4 separate regions of the Homo sapiens genome follow, and regions 2, 3 and 4 are each linked to region 1. The links are contacts of gene promoters, found by promoter capture Hi-C in human tissues and cell types (Jung and others, 2019). All regions are on one chromosome and are shown on one strand. Each heading gives the region's core, a stretch centred on a gene start or on the middle of the fragment in contact. The rest is flanking DNA. Distances are from core to core; before and after follow the strand shown. Region 1 holds the start of SH3BP2 (SH3 domain binding protein 2). Region 2 overlaps LOC124900839. Region 3 overlaps RGS12 (regulator of G protein signaling 12). Region 4 overlaps POLN (DNA polymerase nu).

Region 1 (3,254 bases), core at 426-2,925:
CCTGTCCTCCCTCTGTCTGCCTCTTCAGGCCAGCCTCCTTGGTGGGCTCCCCCATGATCCTGGAGGCCTGGGGACTCCCTGAAAGGCCAGGTCCCCTGTCAGCACCCCTCTCACCAGATGGCCCTGGCTGGCAGTTCCTAGACACGGCTGCCTATCTGTCTTCCTTCTGCCTGCCCCCTCCAGGGTGTGCCTAACGCAGGGCACAGAGCCAGGCAAAGGGAGCCTGGCGGGTGGCAGGGAGAGGGGATAGACAGAATCCTCACTCCCTTGCAGCCCTCGTCCCAGGCCTCCTGTCCTGCCAGGAGTGGAGTGCCTGGAGTGGGGCCCTGAGGTTGGGCTCCAAGAGGGCCCTTCGACGGTGTCTACGTAGAGGAGACAGTGGACAGAGTGGGAAGAACCAGGAGGGGGTGGAGCCCAGCCCCTCCTCTGGTCCCACAGGGCCTGAGCCAGTGAGGGCAGGAGCTTGTCCAGGCTCATGGAGTTGGTGCAGGGCTGACCTGAACCCAGAGGCTTGCTTCGGCAAGGAGGAGGCTGTGGGCCCTGCCTTCAGGCGGTTGTGGAAACAATTCTACACATTGCATCACCGGCCCATGTCACCTGCAAGGCCACACACATGTCATCCAGGCAGGCTGTCCACCCCAGCAGCCCACACGGAGTACCCGCCCCTGGCCACAGCCAATTCGAAGGACTTAAGTGTGGCCACTAGACCAGGAGGCACAGCTGTCCCCAGTGTCAACAGATGAGCAAACTGAGGCACAGAGAGGGGATAGGAGGTGCTCACGGAAAGGAGCACCAGCAGAAGGCTCCCCACAGCAGGGCTCAGGCCCTCAATACCCCCAGGGAGCCGAGGCCCAGAGCAGCGGGAAAGTGCTGGGCTGCAGGGAGGCCAGCGTACAGGTGGAAGGGGCTGTCCCCGCCCCCTAACTCCTCCAGTCCCTCTGCCACCCCTGAGATTCCCTGTTGCCCATGAGAGTCTCAGACGCCCGGCTATCAGTCACTCACACTTCAGTGTGAATCAGCGCCAGTGGGCGGCTTTTCTTGCCCTCCGTGAAGCGCGGCCGCTGCAGAGGGAAGTTTGGATTCCGGGAAGGGCGGAGAGCGAGTGCCCGCCGCAGCCTTTGAGTCTTGTGGGGAGGGTCGCGTAAAGGGGCCCCGCCGCGGGGCCAGAGGGGCGCGAGGGGTGCGAAACAGACGCGTCGCACCGCCTCCCACCCCTGAGCCCCCGGCAAGGGACACCCGGCCCCCGCCCCGAAGCCGCGCTCCCTCGGGCACTGCCCGCCGTGCCCAGGCCCCGTGCGTCCTTTGGCAAGGACACGGAGGCCCCGGGGCCCGGGGGAGGCTGCTGCGCACCCGAGACCCCCGACACCCGCCCATACCTGCCGGGACCCTGAGACTCCCCCGAGACCTGCCAAGACCTGCCGGGACCCCTGAGACTCCCCGGAGACTCCCCCGAGACCCCCGAGACCCGCCGAGACCTGTCGGGACCCCGAGACTCCCCCGAGACCCCCGAGACCCGCCGAGAGCCCCCAGACCGCCAAGGCCCGCCGAGCCCCTTCCAGACGCGGAGACCGCCCCCCCGCGAGACCCCCGAGACCCGCCGAGACCCGCCGCCGAGGCTTACCCGCCGAGCGCTCTCCTGGCCCGCGGGCCCTGGGTCGAGGCGGCGGCTTGACTCGGCCGCCAGGCGCTCCCGCCCGCGGGACCCGCCGCCGCCGCAGCTCCGTCCCGCCCGCGCCCGCCCAGTCCGCCCTCCTCCTGGCCCCGCCCCGGCCCCGCCCCTCCCCGGCGGGTCCCGCAATCCTGGAGGTCCGAGCTGGGCGTGGGGCGGGGCCGGTACCTCAGGGTGGGCGGGGAACTGCACGTGGCCTCCGCGGCCCCGGGACGAGGCCCCTGGGGGGCGAAGACTGGCGTTGTCGCGGGCCTAGACGCCGGGTCCACAGTAGGTGCTTAGTTCTCGCCCGTGAGTGAGGTAGCGTGTCTGTCCCTCCTGCGTGTCCCTCCCAGTGACACCCCAGTGCCCAGCGACCCAGGTGGAAAGGGCGCTGTCCACCCCCCCAGCCCCGTGGTCCTGATCCTGGGCGGCCCCACCCCTGCCCCGTGAGTGCGACTTAGGCCCTGGCCAAGACAGGAGCAGGGGAGGTGGGGGAGGGCTTGCTGGGCACCAGGAAACCTTGTCTTTGTTTCCAAATGTCCTCCAGGGTACTTTTCAGGCACTTCCCAGGGGGACCTCGCCTCTTGGACCAGGTCTGGACTCCGGTGGCCCAGAGGTCGTCTTGGGGCTGGGAGGCACAGGAGACCGGGTGCTTTACACTTGGCCTCCTCTGAGGCTCCCTTTCCTCCACCATCACCCTCTCCCTAAGAGTAGGCCCAGATGCCTTGGTGTAAGGGCAGGGGCGAGAAGAGGAGGGGCTTCCTGGGAGGAAATGGCTTCCCTGGGGAGCTCTCAGGGCCAGGTAGGTGGAGGGAGCCGTGGAGAAAGTGAAGAGGCTGGGGAGACCAAGCTGGGCCTGCAGAGCTTGAGGGCGAGCGGACCCCCCACCAGTGCGGGAGTCAACTGCTTGGGGCGTGGGGGGACTCCTCCCCATGAGGAGTGGGGACTGGACCCCAGGTCCCAGAGCCCAGGAAGCTGTGAGTAGAGGAAGGACAGGATCTTGCTGGGAACCCAAGGGAGCTGGGGGTGGGTGGTGGTGACCTGGCCCTGTCCAGGCAGGCGGCCAAGGTCTGACCCTCTGTACTGAGCACAAGAGGCCAGAGTCCAATGACAGGGGCTGAATTGGCTGCTCCAAATCAGGCAGGGGCAGGGGTGTCCAGGGCTGGCCCTGCAGCAGGTGAAGGACTGGGTTTGGGTCCTACAGGTTGAAATACCTGAGGGCCTCCAGGAGACACAGCCAAACCAAGCGGGTTCTCAGGGTTGCAGCTGGACCGAGTGTGGGCCAAGTCACCGTCCACCTGTCCCAGAGCTGCCCAATAATGGGTCCCAAGCCTCAGAAAGGGGATCCCTGGCTGCAATAGCCCTCCTCCCTGCTGGAGAGACACACTTGGGATCAGAGAGGTTAACTGGGGAGGGGAGTAAGTGGGAGGAGTCAGAAAACTAGGTGGCCAGGCCCTGAGCCCAGGCATAGAGGAAGAGCCAGTGCCTACCAGGAAGTGACCAGGACCAAGGCAGGGCCTCTGGAAGGGAAGGGACAAAGCAGGGGATGGCAGAGGCAGGGGAGGATATGGGAGAGTCTTCAGACAACAGGGCCCCTTTTCCC
Region 2 (3,254 bases), core at 250-2,749, 760 kb after region 1:
CCAGATGTTACCCTTAAAGTATGTCGAGTTTTAAACTCTTCTCCCTTGTTGCTGGACTTCGTGTCCCAGGAAACAGATCCCCAACTCATTCACTCCTGTGTGGAAACCATAGAACAGACCTCCTCTAGCAGGCCTGACCTCAAAGATGAGCCCTTGAGCCCCTGCATAACCCCGATGTTGAGTGGCTCAGAGATGAAAGTGGTTTTATTCATAAGGGAGAAAGAAAGATCGGTTATGCAGTAGTTAGCCGAGAAGAAGGCATTGAGGCCAAAGCTTGACCTCCCCAGACATCTGCTCAAAAAGTGGAATTAATTGGTCTAATCAGGGTCCTCCAACTGAGAAAAGACTTAAGAGTCAACATATTTACCGATTCCAAATATGGGTGCCTGGTGCTCCACGCTCATGACGCCATATGGAAAGAAAAGGGAGCGCTAACAGCTAAGGAATCCCCCACACAGCATTGCTCTGAGATCTTGGAATTGTAGATGCTGTCCAGCTCCCAAAGGAGGTGGCAGTTACTCACTGCAGGGGACACCAAAAGGGGGACACCTCTATCATCCCGGAGGAAATGCCCTGATGGACAGGACAGCCAAGGCCACAGGTGAAGAACACCAGTGCTCCAGGCCACGGACTAATGCCAGGTACTGCACCCATGCCAGCAGCACCCTACTGTACTCCTGAGGAAAGTAAATGGGCAGAACAGATGGGCTTACAAGGCCAGGCGTGGTGGCTCACACTTGTAATCCCAGCACTTTGGGAGGCTGAGGTGGGTGGATCATGAGTTCAGGAGTTCGAGACCAGCCTAGCTAACACAGTAAAACCCTATCTCTACTAAAAATAGAAAAAAAAATTAGCCAGGTGTGGTGATGCATGCCTGTAATCCTGGATACTCGAGAGGCTGAGGGAGGAGAGTCATTTGAACCTGGGAGGCAGTTTTCCCTGGCCAGTGCTAGGGAGATTGTGAGGTTTGGACTGGGCAGAATTCCCCACAGCGCAGCACAGCAGCTGTGGCAGATTGTGGCCAGACTGCCTCTTTAACTGGGAACCAGACCCATCCCTTCTCACCCGAGCAGTGCCTCCCTGCAGGAGTTCCAGCAACTCCAGCCAGGGGTTTACGGACAGAACTTTCATCTCCCCAGGTCAGAGCACCTGGGGAGAGTGGTGGCCGCAGTCTCAGGTTGGACAGACTTAATCTTTCCTGCTTGCTGGCTCCCAAGAGTCCCAGTGACCTGGATGAGGGGGCATTCCCCCCAGCGCAGTGCACCCACACTGGTAAGGGGCAGCCAGACTGCTTCCTTAAGCAGGTCCCTGATCACATGCCTCCTGACTGGGTGAGACCTCCCAACAGGGGCCACCAGACACTTCATTCAGGAGAGCTGCAGCTGGCATCAGGTCGGTGCCCCTCTGAGACAAAGCTTCCAGAGGAAGGAGCAGGCAGCAATCTTTGCTGTTCTGCAGCCTTCACTGGTGATACCCAGGCAAACAGGGTATGGAGTGGACCTCCAGCAAATTGCAGCCGACCTGCAGAAGAGGGGCCTGACTGTTAAAAGAAAAACAGCCAGGCGCAGTGGCTCACGCCTGTAATCCCAGCACTTTGGGAGGCTGAGGAGGGTGGATCACAAGGTCAGGAGTTCGAGACCAGCCTGGCCAATATGGTGAAACCCTGTCTCTACTAAAAATACAAAAATTAGCCAGGCGTGGTGGTGGGCGCCTGTAGTTCCAGCTACTTGGGAGGCTGCAGGAGAATCGCTTGAACCTGGAAGGTGGATGTTGCAGTGAGGGAGCCAAGATCGCGCCACTGCACTCCAGCCTGGGTGACAGAGCGAGACTCCATCTCAAAAAAAACGAAAAAAAAGAAAATAAAAGAAAAACAAACAGAAAGCAACAACAACAACATCAACAAAAAAGACCCCACAAAAACCCCATCTAAAGGTCAACAGCCTCAAAGAGGAAAGGTAGATAAATCCACAATGAGGAAAAACCAACGCAAAAATGCTGAAAATTCCAAAAGCCAGAATGCCTCTTCTCCTTCAAATGATCAAAACACCTCTCCGGCAAGGGCACAGGAGTGGGCTGAAGCTGAGATGGATGAACTGACAGAAGTACGCTTCAGAAAGTGGGTAATAATATACTTCACTGAGCTAAAGGATTATGTTTTAACCCAATGCAAAGAAGCTAAGAACCACGATAAAACATTACAGATGGTGTTAACTGGAATAACCAGTTTAGAGAGAAACATAAATGACCCGACGGAGCTGAAAAATACAGCACAAGAACTTCATGATGCAAACACAAGTATCAACAGCCAAATCAACCAAACAGAAGAAAGAATATCAGAGCTTGAAGACTGTCTTGCTGAAATAAGGCAGGCAGACAAGATTAGAGAAAAAATAATGAAAAGGAATGAACAAAACCTCCGAGAACTATTGGACTATGTAAAAAGATTGAACCTACAACTGATTGGAGTACCTGAAAGAGACGGGGAGAATGGAGCCAAGTTGGAAAACACACTTCAGGTTATCCTCCAGGAGAACTTCCCCAACTTAGCAGGACAGGCCAACGTTCAAATCCAGGAAATCCAGAGAACTCCAATAAGATACTCCATGAGAAGGTCAACCCTAAGGCACATAATCATCAGATTCTCTAAGGTTAAAATGAAGTAAAAAATGTTAAGGGCAGCCAGAGAGAAAGGCCAGGTCACCTACAAAGGGAAGCCCATCAGACTAACAGTGGACATCTCAGTGGAAACCCTACAAGCCAGAAGAGATTGGGGGCCAATATTCAACATTCTTTTTTTTTTTTTTTTTGAGACGGAGTCTTGCTCTGTCGCCTGGCTGGAGTGCAGTGGCGCAATCTCAGCTCACTACAAGCCTCTCAAGTAGCTGAGATTATAGGCACATGCCACCACGGCCGGATAATTTTTTGTATTTTAGTAGAGATGGGGTTTCACCATGTTGGCCAAGATGATCTTGATCTCCTGACCTCGTGATCCACCCACCATGGCCTCCCAAAGTGCTGTGAGCCACCGCGCCTGGCCAATATTCAACGTTCTTAAAGAATTTCCAGGCCAGGTGCAGTAGCTCACACCTGTAATCCCAGCACTTTGGGAGGCCAAGGTGGGTGGATCACAAGGTCAGGAGTTCAAGAACAGCATGGCCAACATGGTGAAACCCTGTCTCTACTAAAAATACAAAAATTAGCTGGACAGGGTGGTGCGTGCCTGTAATCCCAGCTGCCTGGGAGGCTGAGGCAGG
Region 3 (3,254 bases), core at 192-2,691, 600 kb before region 1:
CCATTTACTTCTGTTCTGCAAATCTCATGCTACTTTTGGTGCACACTGTCTTTTTTGTTCTTTTTATTGCTTTTTCACTTTGTCTGATATTAATATTGTTATGCCACTTCTCTTTTTTCTTAATATTGCTTGTTATATCCTCTCATTTAGTTGTTTTCAAACTTTTGTCACTTATTGTTGTTTGTTTGTTTGTTTTCAGAAGGAGTCAAACTATATTGCCCAGGCTGGTCTCAAACTTTTGGCCTCAAGTGAGCCTCCTGCCTCAGCTTCCCAAGCATTCCCTATAATCCACAGCTAGGATTATAGGTGTGCACCACCGTGCCTGGTTCAACATCGCTTATTTTAAAATTGGGTTTTTAACAATCAAAGTGGAGAGTTTTTCTCCTCTGATGCTCTTTCTCTTGTTGATCTTGTAAGCTTCTTCAGGACCTCCTGGCTTATTTTCTCTACCCAGTCCCTCTAAATAATTTTATTCACTTCCAGTGGTCAATTATATTGAAAATGCAATTAAAATGCCATTACAAATAATGGCAGTTATCATTTATATAACTCCTTATAATGTACCAGGTATTGTCCGATGTACTTCACATATATTAAATCATTTACTTCCTGTAAGAAGTCTGTAAGTAATGGGTCCTACTATTATTCCATTTTACAGATGAGAGAAATGAGACCCACAGCTAGGAAGTAGCAGAATTAGGATGTAAACCTAAATAATTTGGCTCCAGAGGCCATACTCTTAATTGTTCTATGTCCTATTGCCTCTCAAACCACATCTTCAGCATCTTCTGGTTTCCCATGTGTCTTATGGGTTTGAGACTCGCCTTTTCTGCATGATCTATAATTACTCAAGTTTACCAAGCCAATGAGTTTCATTGAAACGCTGATGACTCCCAAATTTCTATTTTCAAGCCCAACCACTTTTCTGCATTCTGTACTCATTTATCCAACTGTCTACACAATATCTCCAGTAGATTTTGAATAAACATCTCAAAAATCCCATGTCCAAAGCAGAATTCTTGGTTATCACCCCCCTATCTGCTCCTCCCACCCTAGTCTTCCCCATCTCTGCAAACACCCTCATCCTCCGAGCTGCCTGAGGCAAAACCCTGAGGTTAGTCTTGGGACCCCTCTCACGTCGTTCCACTGCTCCTCCCATGGACATGTGCACACACGACTACTCTCTCTTGGGTTCCTCGCGACCCCCTGGCTGCCATCTCAGCTTTTTCCTGGTTCTTCCTGTCTTCCCAAACTCATATGAGGGTTAATCCTCACCCATCTGTCAGGTCTCAGCTCTGCTCGGCCATCCTGACCACAGGGTGGGCTCTGGCCCGGCCACGCACTTGCACAGCTCCTTCTTCTTCTATCGCAGCCAGTGTGGCATCCCACCACAGCCCACCTCGGCACCCAGAGGCACACAGGGGCTTCCCACTGGCTTCTCTGATGCAACCAGTCCCTTTTTTCTCAAGTCCTTGCAAGGTCTTGTGTGTCCCAGGCTGCTCCCTCACCTTCTTTCGAGCAAGAGTCTATTTGAGGGTGATGCATTAGCCTGAAATCATCTCCATTAATGCTGGTGTTAGATACTTATAGAGGTCATTCATCCAGAAGAGATGGTTTTTTAAAAGGCAAACCAAGCCAGATTTAGTATTTATTCCTGGGAGGAATGGTCTCAAGACTTTGAGAGCAAGAATGAGTAACTACATATTGAAGATCACATATGTATAATTACAGCAATTAAAAAAAAAAAACCCCAATTGTCCAAATGTCAATGGCTGCATGTGGCTTGTGATAACATTTCCAGGAAAAGCATCAACACAGATTCCAGAAATGCTATGTCTCAACCAGCTTGGACAAAAGTGAAGATGACTCTGGAAAGCTGCCAGTGACTTGAAAATTGCCTCCAAAATATATAAGGAAATGCAAGGGCCAGGAATAACCAAGGCAATCTTAAAGACAAGCAAAATGAAGACTATAGCACTAGATATCCAAATGCCAGGGACGAGAATTACGACATGAAGTCCTGATCCAATGATAGACAAACAGACCAATGGAACAGAATACAGAGGCCAGAAACAGACCCACAAATATATGATTACCTGATACAGGTGTTGCTTCAAGTTATTGGGAAGGATTGTCTTTTCATTACATGGAGCTGGGACAACTGAATACCATGTAGAAAAAATGAATCTTACCCCTACCTCACACCATAGACAAAAATACCAATTCCAGATGAATCAGAGATTTAAATATTGAAGATAAAACAAAACAGATTTACTTTCATGGTCTTGGGAAGGGCAAAGCCTGCTCTAAAGGGACATAAGCATTACCCTAAGGGGAAAAATGATAAACTGGATTATATTAAGAACTTTCAGTCATCACAAGATACCACTAAGAGAATGAACAGGTAAGGTATAGAAAGGCTTAACTACATACATAAATCTATCACAAACACATAAATCCAAAACACAAGGTATATCTAATACAGCCAGCCCTCCGCACCCACAGTTCTGCATCCACAGATTCAACCAACTGTGGATGGAAAATATTTGGGAAAATATTTGGAAAAAAAATTAATGGAAAAAAAATAACAATACAACAAAAAATACAAATAAAAACAATATAGTATAACAACTGTTTACATACCATTTACATTGTATTAGCTGTTATCAGTAATCTAGAAATGATTTAAAGTACCCAGGAAGGTATGGGTAGGTTATATGCAAACGCTACACCATTTTATATCAGGGACTCAAGTATCTGCAGATTTTGGTATCCTCAAGGGGTCTTGGAACCAATTCCCTAGAGACACTAAGGGAAAACTATACGTAAATCCACCATAAAATCATTTCCAGAATATATTTTTAAAATATTCTATAAATCAATAAGGAAAGGCAGATAACCTAACAGAAAAATAAGCAAAAGTCTTGAACAAGCACTTCACAAAATAAGATATTCAAAGGGCCAAAAATATATGAAAAGGTGATCAATTCATAGTCATCAGGGGACTGAGAACTAAAACTATTAATACAATTAAAGCCCTATGTATGTGGCTACAGGGAAAGTGTTGAGAGGATGTTGAACACCTAGAATTCTTATATACTGCTAGTCAATGTGGACACTGTAAAAATCATTTGGAAATTGGCAGTATTTACTATAGGTGAATATATACAAACCCCCAGCCTATCAGAGCAGAAATGTATGCAGATGCCCACCCAAAAGACCTGTACAAGCATGTTATATGGCACCATCTGTAA
Region 4 (3,254 bases), core at 375-2,874, 580 kb after region 1:
TCTGCCATCTGCTGCGCCCATGCTGGCACACTGGGCTCTCTCATGGAGTAATCATGGGGTGGGTAGATGCTGTGCATGGCCCATAGCATGGGGCTCCCCCTCACCAGAGCTGACCTAGCTATTTCTCTGCAGAACATCCAATCTTCCAGCAACAGAGACCAAACACTGAGTCCCCAGTTGTACCTTCCTTGGAGGGAAACAGTCATTTGACAACACTGAACCCCTTGTGCCCTAGAAGGTACAGTGATTCATCTTGGCCAGAACCAACACACGTTACAGGCATGGGTTTGCCTTTCCCATTCTCATGGATTCAGTCAGCTCCATCACCCAAGTTTCACAGAGTGTTTGATCCACAGGATCCTGCGCTCAGCCAAGGAACTGCAGCAGTGGGCACATGAGAGTAGGACTCACTGTCTCCCTCACAGCCACACACCAAGAAGCTGCCAGCCTGATGGAGCAGCAGGATGGTCTGTGGAAGGCACAGCTCACCTCGTGTGCAGCCTGGAGGTGACACCTGTGATGAAGCAGTCACCTCCAGGGTGCAGTCTGCACTGCAAATCACTAACCAGTACGTGGTGCAGTGTCCTTGGTTTGTGTAATAAATGGGTCTGGGAACCAAAAGGTGAAAGTCATCACTCCCAGTGACCCACTTAGAAATCTGTATTTCTCCCTCACACTCCTCTGGGTTCTTAAGGTTTAAAGGTCTTGACTCTCAAAGGGAAAACCTTTCCAGCAGGGGCACAGGAAGAACGCCATTTAATTTCCAGCTGTGGCTGCTGTCTGGTCATTTTGAGCTCCTTGTGCCAAGAGACTGGCTGGCAAGGAATGTAATTTCCATCTTCTGGGGTGGCTGACCGTGGGCGTCAGGTGGAGGTAGAGCTGTTACTACATAACTGGGGGCAGGGAAGCACCCAGGTGATGTGATTGGCCACCTCATGGTCCCCTGCCCAAATTTGATGGCAAATGCTGGGGCTATGGCCAGAGAAGGGCATGGTGGCCAGGGGCTTACCTCTCAGGGATGAGGGTTTGGGTTACCTGATCAGGTAAGCTAAGCCACCTAGAGCAGCAGAGGAGATAGGCAAGGGTGAGGAGTTAGCATGGGCAGTAGAGGAGGGAGATGAATGTAATTTGCAACCTTGAGGCCAGCTGCAGCAAGATGTAGTTCATCCCAGTGCCTTCCTTTTATAAATTTCCCAAGGAAAAGGCCCGCCAGAATCCTACAGGAGCTGCTCCCAGAACGTCCCTGAAGCAAGTGGCTATGAGCAGTGCAGTGTGGAGTGTAGCAAGCACTGTGGTTCCCATATGCCCCTTTAGTACTGAAGCACTGTCCCTGCTCCTGGGACAGCCCCTCCCTGATTGCCTGGCTGCAAAGAACTTCTTTGCCCAAGGGCCCACCCCTTCCCCAGGAGTGACTGGTCCAGTGACTAGTTTGTGCAGGGGTATAAAAGCCCAGCTGTCTTGACCCATTGGGAGACACATCTGTAGGACCATGCTCAGCTCAGGGCAGGCCTTTGAGTGACTGCATCTTAGCCATTGTCTTCCTTGGTTGGATTCTGCTTCCTTCACTCTCCAATCACCTTTTCAAATGCAAACCTTCATCACAGAGGTGGTCTCCCAGGGTACCCGAGTGTTATGTGCGTAACATCTTCGTGTGCATAAGCGGGGAGATTTGGTCATTATTTTTAAAAATGAGGTCATCATCTTCAGTCAACCACTATAGCTGGAGTCATTTTCCCCCCTGCAATCTATGTTTTAACAAGGTCATTCTTTTTAGTGGCTATGTATTTCATGATGTGGATATTATGTAATTTATTCCTCAGTTTTCTTCTGATTGGTATCTACTTTATTTTCAGTCCTTTGCCATAATGAGCAATACTGCTATAAACATTTTGGTTTAAACCTGTTTACTGTTGCATATATTTCTGTGAAACAGCCAAGAGTGAGATTATTTGGTTAGAGATTATTTGGTTAGATGATGGATATTATTTCCTATCTGTTTTTGTTAAGGCAAGAGCACTCTGTCTCTCATATATATATGGCTGAGGTATATACATATATATGTATATGTATATACATATATATGTATATGTATGTGTATATGTGTGTGTGTATATATATAAAACAGCACACATATCCTAAGTTTAGTTTAGGTCAAAATTTCACAAACCCAAACCCAGTTCAGGAAACATAACTAGCATTCCCAGAGGCCCATCTTGAGCTCCCTGTGGGTCACTTTCTCCACCCAACTCCCAAAGTGATGTATGCATTATTAATTTTAATAAGTCTTGACAGTTTGCCTTCTAGAAAGAGTCTATTTACATTTTTACCAGCAATACATGAGACTACCTCTTCCCCTGTGTTTCCAGTTATAGTTAATTTGCGTTTCCCTGAGTATTGTATTTGTTTCCTCTTTGGGTTTTCTGTTTTGTGTATTGCCTCTTCCTATTCTTTGCTCATTTTTCTGTTGAATTGTTTGTCTTATCTTGTAAATGTATGAGAACTTGTTGTATAATATAGCAGTTAACCCTTTGTCATTTTTGTTCCAAATAGTTTTCCCAATGCATTTATTTTCTTTTTGATGTGGTGCTAGTTATACCAGCCCTATTAATTAATCTATCCTTTTCTATTGAATTGAAATACTATCTTTGTTGTATATAAAGTCTTGGGATCAGTCTCTGGGTTGTCTGTTCTCTTCTAGAGGTCTTTTCTCTCTCTCTTTTTTAAGCTTACTTTTTTTTTTCCCAGGACAGAGTCTTGCCCTGTAACCCAGGCTGGAGTGCAGTGGCGCAATCTCGGCTCACTGCAACCTCCACCTCCCGGGTTCAAGCAATTCTCCTGCCTCAGCCTCCCAAGTAGATGGGATTGCAGGTGCTTGCCACCACACCTGGCTAATTTTTGTATTTTTAGTAGAGGTGGGGTTTCACCATTTTGGCCAAGCTGGTCTCGAGCTCCTGACCTGAGGTGATCCACCCACCTCAGCCTCCCAAAGTGCTGGGATCACAGGCGTGAGTCACCACGCCCGGCCTAAGCTTACATTTCTTGTCTTTTCGTACTTTGAAATTATTTTATTAAATTAAAATATCCCTGTAGGGTCTCCAATTGGAATTGCCTTAAATTTAGAAGAATTAAACATTTTGTGATCTATATCCTAATGCTGTGTCTTTTCATTTGTACAGATCTTTTTTTATGCCATTTAATAAGATTTTACATTTTCATCATTGAGGGCCTTGTATCTTTTTTGTTATATTTATCCT

The links. Contacts are between HindIII fragments. The study calls those that stand out against the background at their distance.
Region 2: a fragment that was not itself captured here is called in contact with the fragment with the promoter of SH3BP2 in region 1 in 1 of the 25 tissues and cell types used here (dorsolateral prefrontal cortex).
Region 3: a fragment that was not itself captured here is called in contact with the fragment with the promoter of SH3BP2 in region 1 in 1 of the 25 tissues and cell types used here (H1 embryonic stem cells).
Region 4: a contact is called between a fragment that was not itself captured here and the fragment with the promoter of SH3BP2 in region 1, in 2 of the 25 tissues and cell types used here (lymphoblastoid cells and pancreas).

The regions. Positions count from the first base shown.
Region 1 is chr4:2,791,506-2,794,759 of GRCh38, reverse strand. SH3BP2 (SH3 domain binding protein 2) reads right to left here and starts at 1,675. Exons shown (of 13, transcript NM_001122681.2): 1 at 1,622-1,675. RefSeq lists a silencer at 1,608-1,957. The HindIII fragment of the contact is 44,064 bases long and covers 1-3,254 here.
Region 2 is chr4:2,031,754-2,035,007 of GRCh38, reverse strand. All of the region lies in intron 1 of LOC124900839, which reads left to right. Among named protein-coding and RNA genes, the nearest start is that of NICOL1, 8.6 kb to the left of the region's middle. The HindIII fragment of the contact is 6,531 bases long and covers 1-3,254 here.
Region 3 is chr4:3,395,409-3,398,662 of GRCh38, reverse strand. All of the region lies in intron 4 of RGS12 (regulator of G protein signaling 12), which reads right to left. Among named protein-coding and RNA genes, the nearest start is that of HGFAC, 45 kb to the left of the region's middle. The HindIII fragment of the contact is 3,930 bases long and covers 1-3,254 here.
Region 4 is chr4:2,213,725-2,216,978 of GRCh38, reverse strand. The region is part of intron 3 of POLN (DNA polymerase nu); the gene reads left to right. Among named protein-coding and RNA genes, the nearest start is that of HAUS3, 27 kb to the left of the region's middle. RefSeq lists a silencer at 1,203-1,497. The HindIII fragment of the contact is 4,456 bases long and covers 1-3,254 here.